Linked DNA regions of Homo sapiens: regions 2 and 3 are each linked to region 1. Evidence: promoter capture Hi-C in 16 types of primary human blood cells and fetal thymus (Javierre and others, 2016). All regions are on one chromosome and are shown on one strand. The core of a region is centred on a gene start or on the middle of the fragment in contact, and the rest is flanking DNA. Distances in the headings are between cores, read along the strand shown.

Region 1 (3,724 bases), core at 815-3,314:
ATTTACCACATGTACATCTAAATGTCAACAAAAATACAACACAGAGAGAGCCAAGTGGAAAGCAGATGATAGATTAAGTTAGGCTATACAATGAAGAGGGGAGAAAGAAAAAGGCGGCAAAAAAAAGCTGATCATCTGAGGCCATGGCAATCCCTTTACACCAAAATCCTTTCTTGAGACCTGCACGGTGACTCCTCCCACCACATCACAGCCCTAGCTAAAAGGAGCAAGCAAATTCCAGCTACTTGGGAGGCTGAAGCAGGAGGAGAGCTTGAGGTCAGAAGTTCAAGACCAGCCTGGGCACCACAGCCACCCTCTCTCTCAAAAATAAAAATAAATTAGCCAGGTGTGATGGTGGGCACCTGTAGTCCCAGCTACTTCGTAGGCTGAGGCTAGGAGTTTCAGTGAGCTATGATAGTACCACTACACTCCAGCCTGGGAGCAGGGCCAGACCCTCATCTCTAAAATTAAATTAAATTAAAGGAGAAAGCACACTAGTAACAATGCACTCAGGTCTGGTCACCTTCTGCCAGAAAATTATCTAGTACCATAAACAAAGCCAGATTCAAACAAGCGCCAGGCAGGACAATCTGTGCACTACAGTGCCAACCTTGCAATACTCAGAGTACCCTCCAGAACTACAGGGACAGTGAATAGACAATAAGGTGCCAGATAAAGAACCTCTGGGAAGTCCAGGGACTTCTGCGCCCACCACATCTGGCTAATTTATTTCTATTTTTATTTTTTGAGAGACAGGGTGGCTATGGTGCCCAGGCTGGTCTTGAACTTCTGGCCTCAAGCTATCCTCCTGCTTCAGCCTCCCAAGTAGCTGGGATTTGCTTGCTCTTTTTAGCTAGGTCTGTGATGTGGTGGGAGCAGTCACCATGCAGGTCTCAAGAAAGGATTTTGGTATAAAGGGATTGCCATGGCCACAGATGACCAGAAGTAATTACAGCATCCTGTCTCCTGCACCAGTGCTTCCACACAGCTTAAGTAAAAGGGTCAAAACTGTAACCTGATTCTGCTACTTACGCATGGCACAACTGTAGGGAGTTGAAATGTTTTTATTCATCACGAAGACAGTACCGGGGTCAGTTTTCCCAACATGCTTAACTTCTATCTTCTCAGTTCGGGGAGTTAATGATAACTGCCTGGCTTTCTCTTTATTAAAGAGATCATTCCGCATTTCTGTCAATTCTGTCGGTGACAGCTGAGAAGCTGACGATGTTGCTATAAATCCTGTGGAGAAGTTACAATAAATATGAAGACTGAAAAAATGATTAACGTACTGCCAAAAGTGCGCTCAGAGGTAAAATTAAACCAATTTGTAATATTAACAAACACCAGCGGAAGAAACAGAGCTGGCCCAGATACGTGCCTCTACTTTTAAATTTGGCTCTTTCACATCAGATCGCTATTTCCCACCAATTTCCTGTGTCGTGTTTCCAATCAGTGCTTTACAATAAGGGGCAAAAAGTAACCAGGAAACGGAGTCAAAACTGGACTAGAGTCATTGGGAAGGTGAACAAAGTGGTCGGTTTGACAGGGTCTGAAGAAAAACAAGAAAATTTCAGGAAACCAAAGGTCCCACACCGAAACTATCAATATCCAGAATGAGAAATGCTGAGTTTATATCCCAAAGGCCAAATCAGGGAACCTGCCAAGGCAAGTACGAGTATTCCTTGGGAAGACATGGACAGATGTGCACGGAACGTGCGCTGCTTCCCAGAGGCGGGCCCAAGCTCCTCCCGCGGCCTGGCTCCGACCCCTGGCCCCGACCCCTGCCCTTGCCCCTGCCCTCCGCCAGACCCTCGTTCCCATAAATTAGTCCTCCCAAGCTGTGCAAGAGCGACCGCCGCGGAGGGACTAAGAAACCCTCCTCCTTCCTCTGCCCCGCGGGACCTCCCCGGCCCCGCCTCAGACCCAATCTAGACAGACACCACTATCTAGGCCTCGCTCCCTGTCCCTACGGCCTCTGAAACTCACTCCATTTGATCCCGCCACCGGGTGCGACCAGCCAGAGCCGCAGCGCCCGGGAACCCATGGCCAGCGCCTCCATAGCAGCGGTGAGAACCGTCGCGCGCAAGTCCTTCTCCGCCCTCCTCCCCCGGAAACCGAACGCGCACTCGGAGTTCCGCAGGACAGGTCTGTTCCGGACCCAGCACTCAGACTGCTCGCCTCCACCGGGGGGCGTCAGGCCTCGCTGGGGATTCAGTGGCTGAGACCCCGAGACTCGGAGCCGGGGCGCGTTACCTGTGCTCGATACCTGGGCGCGGTCACCTACCCAGAGGTGCAGGGCCCCCAGGGCGGTCGGCCTGCCGCCCACCACGTAGGCTCTGCAGGGAAACAGAGTTCCACAGGCGTCGTTGCCCTCCGCCTTCAGCCCTCCGCGGGTTCGATCCCGGCCACCCAGGTGAAGCGCTTGCTTCCCTAAAAGAATATATGGTTTTCTTGGCGGGGGCGGGGGTGGGGGGGAATGGGGAAGGCGTCTTCTATTTTGTCAGCGATGACATCCTCTAGCGCGTGGCTTAACTTTCAATTGTGCCGGGTAGGTTCTTAGTTCGGCTGGAGTGGGTCTGCACCCCGGTTCTCCCCTTAGCTGTGGTAATAGAGGCCTCGGAACACGTCCCCTTGACTTTGGAGAGGACGTTGTAATTCCTAAGAGCTCTTTACAAATTTTCTAGTTTAGTTTATATAGTATAGGATGTATAGGAGAAGGCATCCCGGGGCAGAATTTTTGTCTCTAGTTCACTGATGTATCCCAAGCGCCCAGAACAGAGCACAGCGCAGTCAGCGCTCAACAGATGTTTCTTGAATGAATGAATGAATGAATGCCCTTGCAGGCAAACTTCAGCTCATTGTCTAATTTTTCTGTCCTACCAGGACGTGAGTGTTATTTGAAGTAAGCACTCTGTAGGTACAGGATGGAAATATTTTCATTTACAGTAGTTTAATTCTGTGGCTTTACTTAAGGGTGTCGAATTCAGCCTTTCCCCCACTCTGTCCTTTGCCTTGCAATTGGAATGCGCCGCCACCAGGTGGAAGTGCCGCCTAAGGTACAAATATGACCCTGCGCCACGATAGATCGACCGTCTCCTTGGCCCAAATGTTACACTCACAACCACTGCGCCAGGAAAGTGTAAGTATCTTCACTTTTTAAAATGGGAAATGTAAGTGACGGAGCTTGGATTTACATCCAGTCTACATTTTACCAGGCTACATTTCATTTAAGATCCTAATTCAAACCACGAAATGTACATATATACATATAGTGTTGGAGGGCGGGTGTATCTTTTGCTTCCTCAAATTTGCATACAGTTCCCATGAAAGCTGTCTGTTTCATCGGCCTTTTAGAGCCTGTACCCATTTAACCTTACCTAGAAACACTCTAGTGCCCTTAGAACATCTTAGAGCCACATTTAAGCAAAGCCTCTGAACATAAACTTAAGCAAGTTTGATCACAAACCCATTGGAGGCAGGTAATTGGAGTTCACCGGTATGAGAAATTAACCTAGTTGAAAGGTTGTCACTAGTGATAATGGCCAAAAAATACTATGTGCCAATCATAGGGCTTGGTTTATTAATTTTCACAACCTACCTGAGCAATTGGCATAATAATCTTCATATTCCAGGAAAAGAAATTCAGGTTTTAAGAGCTTGAGAGACATACCCGAGGTAAATCTTTGGCCAAGAATTCCCCCCAAATATTTTCTTACTCTGAATC
Region 2 (3,724 bases), core at 833-3,332, 1.1 Mb after region 1:
TAATACTACACAATTAATACCTGCACATATAGTCCAGAAGGAAATGAAATGGACAGGTGCCTGTGTGCGCGCCTGTGTGTGTGTGTGTGTGTGTGTGTGTGTGTGTGTATGTGTGTGTGTGTGTGTGTAGGTGGGGTAAGGGGATAGGAAATTACAGCTCTGAGGGTGAAACTAATTTAGTTCTATTTTCAGAAGCCTCAAATCTCCACTCCCACTTCTCTTGCAGTATGCAGGAAGGAGGCTGGATCCCATCAATACCTAAGGAAAGCTCACTATCACTTGCTTTGGAAAATGGAAAATTCCATTCTCATCAGCTTTCTGCAGAACCTGGAGCCATCTCAGCCAACCAGAGTTCTTTCATCGAGATGGGCCCTACAGATGCTTTCTCCTTTCTTTTCATCCTAAAGAAATGCTACCCTCATATCTGTTTTTACTTCCATAAGCTTATTTTTCTTTTTGTCACAGAACTTCGTAGGTACATTTTAGGGCACATTAAATTTTAGCTAATACTTATTGCTTCCGAAATAATATCTGTTCTGGTTTTCAATTGGCCATTCTTGCATTGCTATAAAAAATACCTGAGACTGGGTAATTTATAAAAGAGGTTTAATTGGCTCATGGTTTTGTAGGCAGTACAGGAAGTATGGTGCTGGCATCTGCTTGGCTTCTGTGGAGGCCTCAGGAAACTTACAGTCGTGGCAGAAGGCAAAGCAGGAGCAGGCACATGGCCAGAACAGGAGAGAGAGAGAGTCGGGGGTGAGGTGCCACATACCTTTAAACAACTAGATTTCACAAGAACTCACTCAGTATCTCGACAAGAGCACCAAGAGGCTGGTGCTAAGCCATTCATGAGAAATCCACATCCATGATCCAAACACCTCCCACGAGGCCCCACCTGCAACACTGGGGATTACAATTCAACATGAGATTTGAGAGGGAACAAATATCCAAATTATATCACCATTGCATTTTATTGTTTTCTACCTTCAGTAAAATAGCTTCTGACAGCAAAATGAGTCACACTAGACCTCCTGAATTTAAGGAGAAAGGTGTGTGGTCTATTAACATTTGTGTATTTTGTTGTCCTTTCCTTGAAAGTAGAAGATTCAGAAGGAAGTCCCAGGCCTCCTAGTCCCTTCCCCCTGTCTTTGCAAAGAGGATGAAGACGGTAATGCCCCATCTCAGGGAACATGTTCCTAACAGCCAGTTTAAAACCTTTAACACAGAAAGAGAAAGAAATAGTTTTGCTGAATTCATTTACTAGTAATATTTTAAAAGCAGTGTTTAGGCCGGGCATGGTGGCTCATGCCTGTAATCCCAGCACTTTGGGAGGCTGAGGTGGGCAGATCACAAGGTCAGGAGTTCGAGACCAGCCTGACCAACATGGTGAAACCCCGTCTCTACTAAAAATACAAAAAAAAAAAAAAAGAAAAAAAGAAAAAATTAGCCAGGTGTGGTGGCACGCGCCTGTAATCCCAGCTACTCAGGAGGCTGAGGCAGGAGAATCGCTTGAACCCAGGAGGCATAGGTTGCAGTGAGCCGAGATCGCGCTGCTGTACTCCAGCCTGGGCGACAGGGAGAGACTCTGTTTCAAAAAAAAAAAAAAAAAAAAGGTAGTGTTTAAGGTATGTCACATATGTAGAACATCAGAATGAGAAAATGATGACAGTGGGCAGGCTGGCGGGCGACTGCAGATGAAATGTGGTGATTATGAAAAGTGTAGCATCTCTAGAGCCTTAGGCACATGCCTGGTTATGTGTTAAGAGCTATTCAAGAATAAGCTGTTCTAATAATCACAACTCTATAAGATGGGGCTACTAGTGTCCCCATAAAATATAAGGAAACTGAGACATGGGGTCATTGTCACACCTCCCTAATGTCATATGGCTGGAAAGTGGCAAAGTCAGAATTTGAACCCAGGGTCCTTCTGCCTCCAGCATTCATGTTCTTCATCTCAACACTCTCCCAGATTTTGTGGCAACAGTTGAAAATCAATATTGCCCTAAACCACTGTAATTTCAACAAAGATCTATGAACACCTATCATGTGTCAGGCCCGTGATGAACTCTGAGGGCACTGAGATGGATGACCTGGTCCCAGCTGTCCAGCCTCTGGTGAGTCTTTTTCAGCCTGTGAACACAGCTGTGGGAAACCTCCAATACCACACACAGCTTTTGCCCACCGGGCAGGCCCAACAAATGGCGTCTAGACACCACATACCATAGAGCCGCTGCCTTGCCAGCCATGAGGTCACACAACGCACTAGTCCACAGCACGCAAGCTGCCTTGGCGGCGTCTCAGGCCTGCTAATTGGGACAGGTGCAGAGTGATGACAGCGGGCCACCCACAGAGCTCTGGCACACTGGCAAAGACATGAGGAGCGGGAGGACAGGAAGAAGAGAAAGCCTGAACTGCAGCCTGGGCAGTGGTGGCTGGCAGATAAAAACATCCTTTATGCACCAAGAACTTGGCTATTTTTGGAATGGGCATTCCCTAATCTCTAAAGCAAATGGTAAAGCCTCAGGAAATGAGAGCCTATGAAAATATATGCCTACATGCAACCACCAGCCTTCCAAACTGGAAAGATAATTTGCACATATACACACATACACGCACGCACAGACACACATACATACATGCACAAACACTCCGATAATTCTAGTAGAAGCTGTGGATCTTTGTAGGATGTAAAGGGAAATGCTACTTCAGGGACAACCATTTTAACAGGTTCATTTCAAATGGGTAGGTAAGAATTAGAAGTAAAAATAAAAGAAAGACCATCTCAGTTACAGGTTAACAGTTGGTTAGGAGACATCATGAAAATGCTAAAGGAAAAGGAGCAGATTTAGAAGAAGCATGTAAAGAAATAAAGTTGACCTTTCTAGATTCTGAAGTTATCGGCAGAATTGATCTAATGTAAGTATTGGCAGGAATATTGTAGGAAGACACCAAGAGGAATGAGATAAGGTCACTTGATTGCAGGAATTTATAGTATAACAGGGCAAATCATTAAGAAATGTCTAAAGTTTTGGTGGAAAGACGCTCATTTTTATGTGAACTAATGGATGCTAATTTTCTTTCAAATGTATAACTGATATTGAATTTAAATGCTCAGCTACATGTAACATGCATTTCTGTTACAGTCTGTTAGGATCTCAGTGGGACTTTAAGAAATAATAAGACATAGAAACATGACTCGTAATGAGAAGCTAAACACAAAGATAGCGTATATGATTTATATTATGCAACTTTTTTTTAAAGTTAGGAGGCAATCACAATTGCTTACTTAATCTAGGTACTTGCAATTAAGCCATGAGCTGAGTATCAGATACCTATTCATTTTCTCCACATCAAAAGTTATCTGTAGGCCAGGCATGGTGTTTCACGCCTGTAATTCCAGCACTTTGGGAGGCTGAGGTGGGTGGATCACCTGAGGTCAGGAGTTCGAGACCAGCCTGACCAACATGGTGAAACCCTGTCTCTACTAAAAGTACAAAAATTAGCCAGGCATGGTGGTGTGTGGCTGTAATCCCAGCTACTCGGCAGGCTGAGGCAGGAGAATTGCTTAAATCTGGGAGGCAGAGGTTGCAGTGAGCCAAGATCACGGCACTGCACTCCAGCCTGGGCAACAGAGCCAGACTCCATCTCAAAAAAAAAAAGAAAAGTCATCTGTAAATCAGATATTCTTAGAACATTTTAATAAGTCACCTCCTTTATTTCAAAA
Region 3 (3,724 bases), core at 337-2,836, 1.1 Mb after region 1:
TTTTGTAATGATAGCTTACTATCGGCTCCTGAATACACTTTAGACAATAATTCTGCTAATATAATATTAATTATTTTTCTAGCAGGATATGTTCTTCCAACTCCATGTTGTTTTTGTCATCCAGAGTCTTGGAATTCTACTCTTACAGAAAATAGATAACCATTTTATTTATCTTCTTGGTGTTGAATCTTCCAATGCTTTCATCACTTAAATCAAACAGTCATAACGTCTTTGATTTTATTGTTTTTAGCAGCTGTAATTGTATTTTACTCTCAGAAACATGCTCCAAAGCATTGCTTGGTCATTTTAATAAGAAGTTAAAGTGCTACTAATGTAGATGTCTGTGACTTCAAAACAAATGGCAGAAAATAAAATAACTTTAATTTTTATTACTTCAAGTTGTATTTTTTTTTTTTTGCTTTGTTTTCAGTCCTCACAATAAAAACAAAAAGTGGGAGGAAGAGATCTTAGGAAGAGAGGAAGATAATTTTTTTTTTTTTTTTTTTTGAGATGGAGTCTCGCTCTGTCACCCAGGCTGGAGTGCAGTGGCGCGATCTCGGCTCACTGCAAGCTCGGCCTCCTGGGTTCACGCCATTCTCCTGCCTCAGCCTCCCGAGTAGCTGGGACTACAGGCGCCCGCCACCACGCCCGGCTATTTTTTTGTATTTTTAGTAGAGACGCGGTTTCACCGTGTTAGCCAGGATGGTCTCGATCTCCTGACCTCGTGATCCGCCGAACTCGGCCTCCCAAAGTGCTGAGATTAAAGGCGAGTGGAAGATAATTTTTTAAAAAGTTTATTCGGAGTACATGTTCTATGTTTCCTGCAGGCCCTGTGACTCATCCTTTATAGCATCTAGTCAAGCTGATCAGCTTCTAAGAACAGATGGAAATGAAGCCCTTCCTCACTATAATGCAGCCATTAGATGATTATCCAGTCCATTCAGTTCTAAGTGCAAATTCACTATCATTTTATTTCTAATCTATCTACCTTTAACTGATGTGGCGAGCAATTTGACTTTACTTGGCTTACTATTGTGTTTCTGTTAGAAAGTAATGTGATGCACATACCTAATATGAAACTTTTACAACAGAGAAAGAGATTTTAATTTAAAATAGCTTTCTTACTAGAGCTTGGACCAAGTTCATTTTCAGAAGTTATTAACAAGATGATACAGGTATCAACATAAAAGTGCAAGGGTAGTTGGTCATTTGATTTTGCATTCAGATCATATATTTTATTTTCATTGTAAAATATTTGAACTACTCAGGATCCAGTTTATGAGGGCTCTTTTGTGTGACTGTTACAAGTAGAAACCCATAATAATATAACCAAGGATGTGAAATTGCTTTATGCTAATATTTTAACCTGTGGGAGTGTACTTTCTCCTACTCTTTTTTTGAAATGTACAGCCTCATAGAGATGCATAATTTTTACCTACTCATTCTTAGTAGCAGAAAATGAGATTATCAGTATAGTAAGAAGCTTTTAGTAAATTAAGGAATTAAAAGGATAGTAGTCTCTTTATCAAATACCAGGATTATGACTACTCCTACCTCCTCTTCCAATTTTTTTTTCCGTTGAGGTTTTATAAGTGATTTGCTTCACAGTACAGATGTTTTTATAGATCAGCACCTGCAAATTTATGCTCATTTGAGTCTATATTTATGTGACAGCTGTCAGTCTGAAATCAAAGCTTTGTGAATCATACATTGAGATAAGCTCAATTAACTACATCAAGAAAGTTTGATAGCAAAAGTGGTCCAGAAACATTTCATCATGAAGATTGCAGAAGTCATTGAGTCCCTAGACACAATCCTTGCATCTAAAGTAACAGTTATCAGTTTTAACACAAAAAGTAATAGATGTAGAAGTTACTTGAAATAAAAGGCTAAAATACAACCTTTGTCCTAAATGCTTTTGTAAACTGATCAAGGACTCAAAGCCCACATGCCACATCCATTTGTCACACAGTTATTGAAAAGGAGTCAGTGTTGACTGGTGCACTTGGAGAAGTCTTTTTGCAAGAGTAGAGTGAATAGTGAGTACTGACTGATCAAGAGGAGGCAAATACATGGAGGAAAAAGAGAAAGATCATTTTAGACTGTAAATTCCCTGAAGGTAGAAAATATATCTCTTCATATTATCTGTCAAGCATCTACCACACAGGTTGGCTGAATTATTTTGAAGAAAGTTTGGGATAGCGCAGGAAGAAAAATTATGAAGTGTGCAGGAAGTGGCAAAAATTGACCTATGTTGAGTGGAGGGTATATTCTGGAATGATTAATGTGGATGCAGAGGGAAGATCATGACATTGGCTGTATTATAAAAGCTGAAACAGCAGTAAAGAGTAATTATAAGAGATGATGGGTGAAGTAGTGATTACTGGGTGTCTTTTCAGTGAAATGATGAGTTTATCTGGTTGTATAGAAAGGCGCACCTTAGATTGTTTTTCTGTTGACTGAGCTATATTGCAGCTGAGTAGAGGTAGAAGTTAGGTTGTAGAAAATTTGTGACTATGCAAATAAATTTTGATTGTTTGAGAAAAAATTGGTTCCTTCTCTGTAGAAAAGATGAGCCCAAAGTTTACATTTTATTGTATTATATGACATTAACCAGTTTTGCATTTACTAGCAACTGCAGTTCAGCATTCCTGATTTTATATACACAGCACACACACATATACCCATACATATACATTTATATGTATATATTCTGTTCTCTCTTGAACTGCTTTTAACATCTTACTGATTGTCTCAGCCATTAATTCCCTCACTTTAATCCTTGTTCATTTCATATTTGAACAAGAATCATAATTTTGCCTTTTTGAAAATTTAACATTAGCAGCAGGATAGATTGTCTGGGGAAGAAGTTTGTAAGTCTAGAGATCAATCAAGACTGTTTTAAGGAATTCTATCCCTCAGTACTCAAAGTAGGAAGTTGAGGTCCTACATTTGGGTAACCAGCATATTTTGGAAAATAATGGAAAACCTGAGACGTTTTGAAAGCAAAACCAGAACAGAATTTTTTTTGGGTGTATATATAGACAAGTCAGAGGTAAAGTTGTAGCTCGTAAGCCACTCGAGGGAAAGCAAAGATCTGGGCCACCCTTGATCTTTTTTCTAAGACATGATCTAATATTTTATGAAATGTATCCCCAGGAGGCTTAGGTGACTTGCTTCATTCTCTCCTCTGGGAGTGTTCCTTGCATCATATTGTGCCAGGGAGTTGCTGCCAGGTCTTAGAAGTTGCTTGGATAGTTTACAAATGGGGAAGTACATATTGATAAAGCTGGAAAAAACCTTGGGGAAAAAAAAACAAGTGAAAATACCTCAGCAACAACATACTGTTAAAAATTTCTATTTACCTCTTGTCAACAAATACATCTTTAAATACACAAACATTTTTAAACATTTAAATACAAATACTTTTAAACATATTACTGTGATGGGAAGAATGTAAGCAACCTGTGTTCAATGAAAATAAAAAGTGATGTAATTTATGACATTCATTCAATGGAGTATTATTTATTCATGAAAAAGTATGCTTGTGAAATTGGTATTTTAACAGTCATTTATGGTATGATTTATATGGCAGATTACTAAATTGCAAATAAAATTTGACTTCAACTAAGTAAAACAGACAAACAAAAATATGTATCTGCTGATTGAGACTCCAATGTTGGCCCCAGAAATTTGTATTTATGAATTTCTTTCAGATAATTCT

Evidence for each region. The method cuts DNA at HindIII sites, captures the fragments that hold promoters and counts their contacts. A CHiCAGO score of 5 or more calls a contact.
Region 2: a contact is called between a fragment that was not itself captured here and the fragment with the promoter of MRPL39 in region 1, in 4 of 17 cell types (fetal thymus, total CD4 T cells, non-activated CD4 T cells and 1 more). The highest score is 8.3, in fetal thymus.
Region 3: a fragment that was not itself captured here is called in contact with the fragment with the promoter of MRPL39 in region 1 in 1 of 17 cell types (fetal thymus); the score reaches 5.0 in fetal thymus.

The regions. Positions count from the first base shown.
Region 1 is chr21:25,605,417-25,609,140 of GRCh38, forward strand. It overlaps MRPL39 (mitochondrial ribosomal protein L39), which reads right to left and starts at 2,065. Exons shown (of 10, transcript NM_017446.4): 1 at 1,987-2,065; 2 at 1,033-1,239. The coding sequence starts at 2,059. RefSeq lists an enhancer at 2,010-2,129 and a silencer at 3,110-3,169. The HindIII fragment of the contact is 17,691 bases long and covers 1-3,724 here.
Region 2 is chr21:26,717,672-26,721,395 of GRCh38, forward strand. No RefSeq gene overlaps it. Among named protein-coding and RNA genes, the nearest start is that of ADAMTS1, 130 kb to the right of the region's middle. The HindIII fragment of the contact is 3,282 bases long and covers 442-3,723 here.
Region 3 is chr21:26,680,980-26,684,703 of GRCh38, forward strand. No RefSeq gene overlaps it. Among named protein-coding and RNA genes, the nearest start is that of CYYR1, 110 kb to the left of the region's middle. The HindIII fragment of the contact is 211 bases long and covers 1,482-1,692 here.